Regions from separate parts of the Homo sapiens genome. Here regions 1 and 3 are each linked to region 2. The links are contacts of gene promoters, found by promoter capture Hi-C in blood cells and fetal thymus (Javierre and others, 2016). All regions are on one chromosome and are shown on one strand. The core of a region is centred on a gene start or on the middle of the fragment in contact, and the rest is flanking DNA. Distances in the headings are between cores, read along the strand shown.

The links. The method cuts DNA at HindIII sites, captures the fragments that hold promoters and counts their contacts. A CHiCAGO score of 5 or more calls a contact.
Region 1: a contact is called between a fragment that was not itself captured here and the fragment with the promoter of ALG2 in region 2, in 10 of 17 cell types (naive B cells, total B cells, fetal thymus and 7 more). The highest score is 10.8, in naive B cells.
Region 3: a fragment that was not itself captured here is called in contact with the fragment with the promoter of ALG2 in region 2 in 1 of 17 cell types (naive B cells); the score reaches 5.3 in naive B cells.

The regions. Positions count from the first base shown.
Region 1 is chr9:99,814,331-99,817,993 of GRCh38, reverse strand. All of the region lies in intron 1 of LOC101928438 (a long non-coding RNA gene), which reads left to right. Among named protein-coding and RNA genes, the nearest start is that of NR4A3, 5.7 kb to the left of the region's middle. The HindIII fragment of the contact is 3,095 bases long and covers 818-3,663 here.
Region 2 is chr9:99,220,495-99,223,856 of GRCh38, reverse strand. It overlaps ALG2 (ALG2 alpha-1,3/1,6-mannosyltransferase), which reads left to right and starts at 1,915. Exons shown (of 2, transcript NM_033087.4): 1 at 1,915-2,310. The coding sequence starts at 1,963. SEC61B (SEC61 translocon subunit beta) reads right to left here and starts at 1,575. Exons shown (of 4, transcript NM_006808.3): 1 at 1,491-1,575; 2 at 1,214-1,311. The coding sequence starts at 1,493. RefSeq lists an enhancer at 1,506-1,825. The HindIII fragment of the contact is 2,183 bases long and covers 686-2,868 here.
Region 3 is chr9:99,793,784-99,797,225 of GRCh38, reverse strand. All of the region lies in intron 2 of LOC101928438 (a long non-coding RNA gene), which reads left to right. Among named protein-coding and RNA genes, the nearest start is that of NR4A3, 26 kb to the left of the region's middle. The HindIII fragment of the contact is 1,392 bases long and covers 988-2,379 here.

The DNA.
Region 1 (3,663 bases), core at 1,116-3,615, 590 kb before region 2:
ATTTCTCTTAGAAAATAAAATATGAAATTTGGGGGAAACTTATGTGTGATATAAAGCAATTGTTTTAAATTGCTTTAAATGCTCTTCTGATGAAGTAAAGACGTATAATCTTATTGCTTTTACTAATATATAGAGATGATGATTTCTTATTAATGCAAATATTGGGTGAGGAATGGTGAAATAAAAATTCTAAGCCAGAAGTTGTTACCTAGGGTGAAAACAGGAAAGAAAAGTAAAAAATTGTAAGTTCAAGTTTTGTGGAATCAATGTAGAAGTTCTATACTATATTTAAGGTACATATATAAAATTTAGTAACTTCAGCTGACATTGATTTATACACGAGATGTACCTGGCTCAGTAACCTGCAATCATTATAGTAAGTTTCTATCTGACCTACATGCTTGCCATTCGTTATCAATTCCATCATTGCCAGATTAGTCTTCCTAAAATTTAGATTTTGTTATATAACTTCTGGCCTCAAAAGTCTTCAGCAGCTGGATATTTTCTCCAAAATCAAACCTAGAGCCTCTTTTATTTCCACAGAATTTTCCTGTCCTAGTCAAACTGGTGTTCTCACTGTTCTTCAAACTTCCTTTCAACCTCCCACATTTGTTGATAGTTTTCCTTTTTATGGCATCCCCTCCTTCCTCTTCTTCTCCACTAATTGAAATTTACTCTTCCTCTAAAACTAGCCCAAGAAGTGAACTCAGATTTACTTTACAAAGTCTTTCACAGAGTCTTTCACAAAGTTCTTATTTTTCTGCCTTCTTTTTGTGCTCTTGTGTCCATGGTCTATTCCCTTGTCAAAGTGTAAGCTTCAAAAGCATACCCCACACATCTTTGAAATCCCTGTGGCACCTAAGAATGTTCGATATGGACAGTAAATGTCCATAAAATATTGCCTCCTTTAATTTGGATATGAATAGAGAGAATAGCCATATTATAAGTAACAAATTATATGGATTAGTGTTTTTTTTTTTTTTTTTGAGATGGAGTCTTGCTCTGTCACCCAGGTGGGACGATCTTTGCTCCCTGCAACCTCCACCTCCCGGGTTCAAGTGATTCTCCTGCCTCAGCCTCTGGAGTAGCTGGGATTACAGGTGCCTGCCACCGCACCTGGCTAATTTTTGCATTTTTAGTAGAGATGGGGTTTTCACCATGTTGGCCAGGCTGGTCTCCAACTCCTGACCTCAAGTGATCTGCCCGCCTCTGCCTCCCAAAGTGCTGGGATTACAGGCATGTGCCACCATGCCTGGCTGGAATAGGGTATTTTTGGCACGAGTGGGCATGTATAAGTTTATTTATTGGTTGCTTTCTTTACTTCAACTTGATACTCCAGATAGAACATACTTTATCAAGGTGCCTGCCACAAGCCCAGACAGCTGCGTGGTGATAACAAGAAAATGGCAGTTTGTCTTTATCTATTGTATCTGTGTAGGAAGATTTGCTATGATTTTTTTTTTCCTGATAGACTTTTGGTTTGACTCTAATTCTAACCTCTTTCCCCTCTATTTGTACTTTCTCTTATGCTGCTTTCTCTCACTTATGAACTAGATGCTGTAGGCTAGGAAATGTTAATATCAACTTCTTTTAGAAAAAAGTTTTTAAGGTTTGGAAAATTGCGAACCGTGACATTTTTGTATAACCAATTAAATATGAAAATTCTTGAATCTCATCTTTTCCAAAATATATTGAAATAGGTTTGCATGCTACTATATGCAGAAGTAAAATGAGCAAAACAATTTTGGATTACGATTTTTTAGAATTTTTAGATAGAAGCTCAATATGATTGAATATTAATATCAATGACTGAATATTAAAGTTTACTTTAACAAGGAGAAAGTAACATAGTAGATCAGGAAAGACTTTCTAATTGTAGAAAATTTTGGAAAAAGTAGAAACCTGAGATGGAAAGATTACTTAATAGTATAAGTGCCAATATTACTTTAAAATCTCATTAAATAATGTCTTTTCATCCATTAGAAATAATAAGAGTCAGGACAGGCTTGCAGTCTGGTTAAAAAGATAGTTTATTTCTTAGTCATGTTTTCCTCAATCATTGGTAAACTCTGGAAGACCTCAATAATCTGGGGGAGAAAAGTTATTATTCATGTGTGATAAACCAATTCAGGATATTATTTATGCCTACGAAACAAGATCTGCCTTTTAACTAGAGTTGATGGATGAAGTAAATACCTCTTTCCAAATATAACTGCATAACCCTTTCCCATCATTTCCACTCTGAAAAAAACCAAAAAGATTGCCTCACATACAAGTTCAGTTCCTTCAGCATATTCTCCAACAGTGAGATGCTATATATCACAAAAAGTACTAGACTGCTTCTCAGAGGCCTGGGTCTGGCTTTGCTGCCATGAAGGTGCCCAGCCTTGGGTAAGTTCATCTTTTCGGGGGGCCTAAATATTATTTGTAAAATGATAGTGTTGGGCTCACTTTATGATCTTTAAGGAAATTTCAAGTTCTAAAGTTGAATGCTTTTTTAGACACATTAAATATTGTGAATCAGCTGTGCCCTGGTCTCCTAAAGTGATTGCTATGGCCAGGAGACTTACAAACTGTCTTGTATACAATACATGTGCTTTTAGTAGTAATGTTATATTAAACTGCTTTGGCCTGCATGGTAATGAACTATAGCCACTGAGTGGGATCTTGGTGGCCTGAGAGAGTTAATGCTGCCAGCATCACAGCCTTCTGTCCATGAAGTAGAAATGAGCAGAAACCTGGATAGTCCAAAAGTCATTTTATATTTAGCTTTGGAATTTGTTTTTGTGCCTTCATTTGAATATGGATGAGTCACAAATTGACTTCATACAAATTAGCAAACTTTCATTGGAATGGATTCTGTTGTTTGCTCCTCTTCAGTTCCTTTCTGATCCTCACTGCATGCAAAGCACAAACCATTTCTTAAGTGTAGCAGTGGAGGCAGAACTGTCCTTTTTCTGCTTCTTTCTAGAAAAGGCTTGATGATGGTGGGGTTGCAAGTCTACATCTCCCTTCGGAGTGTAAATAAATAGTGAAATAGTGAGAAGGCAGATCACAAGGAAAGTACCAAGTAGGTGTTAAGTTGAAAAAAAAAAATGGCAAAACAACCAGGATGAATACAGTAGGCTCTATTTGCAAACTTGTTAGGTTTGTGGATGGATAGACCTTTATAGATAAATAAGAGCTCACTTTGTAGGCATTGGGAAGTATCTGAATTTTAACAGATTACAGGTTGAGGTATCATTTTAGTTAGGTTTAGATAGTGAAAACATGGTTTATCTATTTTTTAAATGCCTATTCTACATATTTAGGTATCTGGTTTCCTCTTTAGATCATGCAATTAGTAACTGATTCTGATTTTTTTACCATAATACATTTTCCAGTATTTATTCTGCATGTTTATAGTTCACTACTGGAAAAATTCTTCCCTGACATCTGTTCTGAATTAGTTCCCTTTTCCAGTTATGTTTTCCTGTTTTATCAATTGTGATGAGGAGAATAGAAAGCCATATTTTAAAGATTTCTGCTACTTAAGTTTAGTAAAATTGAAATAAACTATGTAACTTTTTCTAAATTCTGGAAATTTGCATGTTAAATTACCGGTTTCATTTTTTAAAACAATAGCATAAACCGGACAAAATTTGAGATCCAGTTACTGTAGTC
Region 2 (3,362 bases), core at 666-3,165:
TGCTTACAGACAGAGAAGGCCTCAAGAGGAAATAACCCCTGAGCTTAGTCTTGGAAAATAAGTAGAAATTTGCCTTGAGATGAGGGAGAAAGTTTGTGAATTCAGAAAACAGTAATGGGTTCACGAGTGCTGGATCATAGGACAGCAAAGAAAGATTAGGCTGAAGGCCGGGCGCAGTGGCTCACGCCTGTAATTCCAGCACTTTTGGAGGCAGAGACGGAGGATCACAAGGTCAGGAGATCGAGACCATCCTGGCTAACATGGTGAAACCCCGTCTCTACTAAAAATACAAAAAATTAGCTGGGTGTGGTGGCACGTGCCTGCAGTCTCAGCTACTCAGGAGGCTGAGGCAGGAGAATTGCTTGAACTCTGGAGGCAAAGGCTGTAGTGAGCCGAGATCGTGCCACTGCACTCCAGCCTGGGCGACAGAGTGAGATTCCATCCCAAAAAAAAAAAAAGGAAAAAGAAAGGTTAGGCTGAAATGACCACTAAGAGCTTTGGTATCCCCCCGGTTTTTTTTTTTTGTTTGTTTGTTTTTTTTAGTTCAGCAACAAGTAACAGAAACTACGCAGAAGAGTAACAGCAGAGCGAACGATGGACTGGAAAGCAAACAGCCTGAAGAAAAGGGTTAAGTAGCAAATGCAAAGCAGTAGAAAGGGAAAAGGAAAGAGCTTATGAGAAAGCTTTCAAGCAGAGTTTAAAGTCTGGCATATGACTAGAGAGAGAAAGAGCATAAGAAAAATCCAAGATGACGCTGACGTTTCTGGCTCTGAGTAAATGAGTGTACAACAGTGCCATATGGAAGTAAGGAGATATAATTGAGAGTGAGAGAGCTGAGCTGAAAAGAGACTAAGTTTTGTGTAGGACGAGTTATCTGTAGGACAGATTGCTTATGGGGCCGCCAGATGGAAATGTGAGTGCAAACCTCAGGTCCAGAGACACCAGTTTAATGACATCGGTTTTCTCAAAGTTATCTCTGACTCTATTCCAGTTTGTTAACTTTCCTTTTTTAAGAGTAGTGCCCTAAACTGAGCAACGAGAAAAAAAATGTCGCCTTCCTCCCAAAAGGCCTTTAACTACTCCCACGGCCACGTCACTAGAAGCTCATTTTGCCTTTGTCAATCTTCACATGCTAGGGTCTCCACCCCAGAATCAGCGAGGTTCTGGGTCCTATCTCCGAGTCTGGAAGCGAACGAACTGCAGGGTTCCTTACCTCTGCCGGACAGTGGATCCCGCCGCCCGGGCGGCCACTGCTTTGCTGGGAGAGCGCCCTGAGGATCCCACGTTAGTGCCACTGGGGGTCGGACCAGGCTGTAGAGGGAGACAAGCAGACAGACGGGTGAGCGCGGCAGGCCTGCCCCAGAACCCCGGCCTAGACACCCACACCCGAGGCTGGGGGAAGCAAGGGAGCTACAGAGGAAAAGCACGGCGCAAAGCAGGAGGAGTCAGGGCTTCTGGGAGAGGCGGGGATCATGGAAGGGCCGCCATACCATATTGGAGATGAGGGTGGCAAGGCGCTGACGCGGACGGATAGAAAGTTACGGAGCCCCCGAAAGACCGGCAGCTGGCGAGACTGACTCAGGCCCCGCCCCCGGACTTGCAGGCAAGGTCCTCTCTGACCCCAGGGACGCCTGGGTCGTCTCACGATATGCCTGTAGACAGTCTGCTACAGACAACTTAGTTACCTGCTGTATGGGAAGTAGAGACCTCCGGCCTCCTTCCTTTGGATCACAACGTCCTTCAGAAAGTCCAATCCCTACCGAAGGAAAAATATAACCGGGGTCAGACAAGATATTTTCTCAGGCAGTTACTAGACCCTCACAGATTTGCGCTGATGTGGCCTAACTGACGCACGTACGGCAGGGCGGGGTCGGCCCGCAGTGGCCAGCTGGGAGCTACGAGCGCGGAGCTTGCGCAGAAGACCCCCATCAGGGTGCGGGGTGCAGTTGCGGCTCCAGGGCCATGGCGGAGGAGCAGGGCCGGGAACGGGACTCGGTTCCCAAGCCGTCGGTGCTGTTCCTCCACCCAGACCTGGGCGTGGGCGGCGCTGAGCGGCTGGTGTTGGACGCGGCGCTGGCGCTGCAGGCGCGCGGGTGTAGCGTGAAGATCTGGACAGCGCACTACGACCCGGGCCACTGTTTCGCCGAGAGCCGCGAGCTACCGGTGCGCTGTGCCGGGGACTGGCTGCCGCGAGGCCTGGGCTGGGGCGGCCGCGGCGCCGCCGTCTGCGCCTACGTGCGCATGGTTTTCCTGGCGCTCTACGTGCTGTTCCTCGCCGACGAGGAGTTCGACGTGGTAGTGTGCGACCAGGTGAGGCGGCCGCGGGGCCGGCTGCGCGAGTGCGGACCTCGCCGTGGAGGGCGGCCGCGGGCATGACCCCTGAGAGAAGACCTTCCCTGTCTGCGGTTCGCAAAGATCGGAACTGACATGGAGAAGTCAGGGTTGTGAGCGAGCCTGTGGTTCTCTAACTTTAGTGTGGGCCCATTTAAAGTTGCAGATTGCTGGGGTTCCATCCTCCAGGAAGTTTTCATCCAGGTGCCCTGAGGTGGGGCCCAGACATCTGCATTTTAACTGGGTCATAGGGTGATTCCGAGGTAGATAGTCTTTGGGGCTCTGAGAAACGCTGGTATTAGAAGTCAGCTTCAGTCACCTTTTACTAATGAGTAACTCGCGTGTTGTCTTCCCGCTTACCTGTTATTTTTGTTGACTCTCCTTTCAGGCCATTTGCATCCCACTGTCCTTGTGTTCGGAGCCAGGCCACACCGTCCTCAGCAGTGTCATGTGTTAAAAACGCCAAGCTGAATATATCATGCCCCTATTAAAACTTGTACATGGCTCCCCATTGGTTTTTGGAGAAAAGTTCAAGCTTTTTACCTTGGTAAATAATGTCCACCTGGATCTGCCCTGTAGCTATTCTTGACTCTTTCCTTCGTGCATTTTTCCCCATCCTAAAAAAGATGACTTTAAAAAGTAACATTTACTCGATTAAAAATTTAGTAGTATAGAAGGATGTAACCTAAAAGCCCCGTCCTATTCTACTCCCTGAAGATAGCCACCGTTAAGTTTCTCTTGTATTTTTTCAGAAGTTGTGGTGACACCAGCCTGTGTCTTTTCATAGGTATATCTATATCTTCTTATTGGTACATAATTGGTATTATGACATACCTACTATTAGGCATCTTTTTCAGCAAAAATTTATTTATTTATTTATTTATTTTGAAACGGAGTCTTGCTCTGTCTCCCAGGCTGGAGTGCAGTGGCGCGATCTCGGCTCACTGCAACCTCCGCCTCCAGAGTAGCTGGGAGTACAGGTGCGCGCCCCACGCCCGGCTAATTTTTTCTATTTTTAGTAGAGATGGGGT
Region 3 (3,442 bases), core at 434-2,933, 570 kb before region 2:
TTTCACCTTGTTAGCCAGGATGGTCTCGATCTCCTGACCTCATGATCCACCCGCCTCGGCCTCCCAAAGTGCTGGGATTACAGGCGTGAGCCACCGCGCCCGGCCGTCAATGTAATTCTTAGTAATTATTAAGACACATGAACAATTTGTGGTGAAGTCCAGGGTGAACAAGGCAATCTGATTTCAGAATTCACGCTCTAATTACTATACTATGCTATAACTGCCTCTGCAGTTATGGTGAGATGATCACAGATCGATCAGTTCTGAAGCAGTGAAACAAAATGAAGAATTTCAGTCAACATGGGAAATACTATTTGGAGTAGGGAGTTCTTAAGGGCTCTTCAGATTATCCCCACTTAAAGAACTCTTTCCTTGCTACCCTGCTGCACACGGGGAATTATGTGAGAAATATATCTCTGTAATTTACACAAAGGTCATTAATTCCAGCCAGGTTTGTAAGGCACATGACCGATGCACCTGGAGAATATCTGAAAAAGCTCCCCCTTTGGAAGTCAGTCTGCTAGTGCTGACATCTGGCATACTGTGTCAAGTCTTGTTGCTCTGTTCCCCTTCTTTATACTCCCCAGATTTTTCCAACTTTAGGACCCAAGTGGGAGTCTTATGTTGGAGGATGTTGTGCAAACCACATGCGTAAAGAAAATAATTTACATTTTTCCTTTCTTAGCTTCTGGAACATCAGTGATTCCATCCTCCCACTTCTATTGGGCAGAAATTGAGGTATTCTCCTTATGCTCTCTCATCTTCTCCAAAACCTACCACACACACACACACACACACACACACACACCCACTCCCTGCCATTCATGTCAGCAGAGATCCAGCATAGCTACTTGTTTTTTTTTTTTTTTTTTTTTTTCCTGATTCAAGGGTCTAAGAACATGCAGTCTTTGGTAATAAAGGAACTCACTAACAATTCAGGTTTTCTCCTCCATTCCCACCTTTTCCATTCACAACTGCCTTTAAGCTTTCTTTTCTCTGTTTCTTTGCTTACCATTTAATCTTTTTATCCCTCACACAATGCCTGGTACATAGTGGACATTCAGTAAATAGTTTTGAAAGGATAAAAGACAAGATGCATTGTATATTTAATATCTTTTCAGTTACAGAAAAATGTCCAAAAATATTACCTTTCTTTAAATGTCTTATGACAGCAGATTGTTCTTAGCAAGCAGGCTTCACCTTCACCTTCATTGCTGCATTAGAGCTCCCACAACCTCTATGTTTGTTTGATTGTCCTGGTGAAGCTCTGAGTAGTAAAGAAACTGAAGGGAGGCCTCACAAATACTGAAAGAGATGTCTGGTTTGGAGGCAGGTCTGTCTCATGGTATGTTATTCCTCCAGATTCTTTTCCAATTTTCATGACTTCACAATGGAAAAGTTTCCACAGATTTAAGGCCATAATGGAAATTAATAAATTGTAGAAGACATACTGCTGAAAAGAGATGCGGAGAAAATCTGAGGGAAATAGAAGATGTCCAGAAAACCTAAGTTAATTGCTTGACTTACTTTCTAGGCTTAAAGTCTCCTTGGAAATCATTGGCTTCTACAGACTTCCAACTAGGAGGGCAACAGACCTAATTCTTTAATTCTCCAGTTTATTTTTAGTTTTTTTTTTTAAAGATGGGTCCTCACTATGTTTCCCAGGTTGTCCTTGAAGTACTGGGCTCAGGTAGTCCTTCTGCCTCAGCCTTTCGAGTAGCTCTTATTTTCCAATTTTTGAACCCTTTGCTTACATCATCAGTTGTGTTTGAAATCATCAGTTGTGTTTGAAACTGTAGTAGTCTTCTTCCCTTATTTTCCTCTTATCCCAACCTGCCCATACACCTTTTCTCCCACCAACTCAAATTTTAGAATTTTTAATTATCTCAGATTGGTTGACAGCACTTGTTGATCAGGGTGCTAAAACCTAAAAAATTATAGCTGTAGGTATCCATGGTCCATGGTCCAGAATAAGTAACCTTTATATCTAAAGAGCTCAAATTTATGTGGACAGTGATGCAGAGACAACACTCTCCCTGCTGGTTTCCTAGGAAAGTCTTTAGAAATGTGAAAGAGATTTAAACTTTAGGACCTTATCTTTGCCTGAAAGTTCAGACTCATGTTTAGTCTGAGCCATGATGACGCACTAGTGGACTTTCTAGACATGTTCAAAGCAGTGAACCTGGTCCTTCAGAACTTTGGCCCTGGGTCTTGTACAATGTGCTGCAATATGCAGCAGAAACAGTCAACGTGGGAAAGATGAACATTTGCTCCTGAGCTCAGGCAAATCTGTATGTGTGTGTGTGTGTGTGTATGTTTGTGTGTGTCTACAACCTGGAGGTAGTCTCCAAGACTTCCAGTGAAAGTGATAATGAAGCTTGAATTTGGGATGCTTCACACACAAATCTTGCTCTGTCTCTAAACTTCCTTAAGAAATTAGAAAAAGAAGACCAAACCGAACCCAAAATAAGTAAAGATAAGGACAGAAAGCAGCCAAATAGAGACAATAGAGAAAATTTAAAAAGTCTAAAGTTTGTTCTTTGGAAAGTACAATAAACTTGATGAACCCCCAACAAAACTGATAAGGAAAGAGAAAACAGAAATGACCAAAATTGGGAATGAAAGTTATATGACTATAGATCATACTAACATTAAAAGAATAATAAGAGAGGCTGGGCACAGTGGCTCATGCACTTTGGAGGCAGAGGTGGGTGGATCACTTGAGGTCAGGAGTTCAAAACCAGCCTGACCAACATGGTGAAACCCCATCTCTACTAAAAATACAAAATTAGCTGGGCCTGGTAGTGCACGCCTGTAATCCCAACTACTCAGGAGGCTGAGGCAGGAGAATCACTTGAACCTGGGAGGCAGAGGTTGCAGTGAGCTGAGATTGCACCACTGTACAGCCTGGGCAACGAGTGAAACTCCATCTCAATTAAAAAAAAATAATAAGGGAATATTATGAAAATTTTATACGAAAAAATTCAATAAATTAGACATGTTCTCAGATTAAGCTAATGCAAGATGGAATAGAAAAAATGAATAGCCTTATATCTAAAAATTTGAATTTGTGGCAAAAAAACTTTACCCCCATGAAGAAAACTCCAGGTCCATATGGTTTCTTTGGTGAATATCACAAACAAGTAATAATATTAAAGTTAGGTAAATTCAGAAAATTGAGGAGCCCATTTTATGAGGCAGACATTATCCAGATACCAAAATCTGAGAAAAATATTTCAAGCAAAGAAAATTCATCAATATTCCTTATGATCATAGACACAAAAATCCTTAATGAAATATTATGTTGAATACAGCAATATATAAAAATGTTAGTACATCATGACCAAGTGGGGTTTATCCCAGGAGTACAAGATTGTTTAATCCAAAAATCAATTAATGTATTTCACGTATTAACATAATAAAGGAGGAAAATGATATAGTC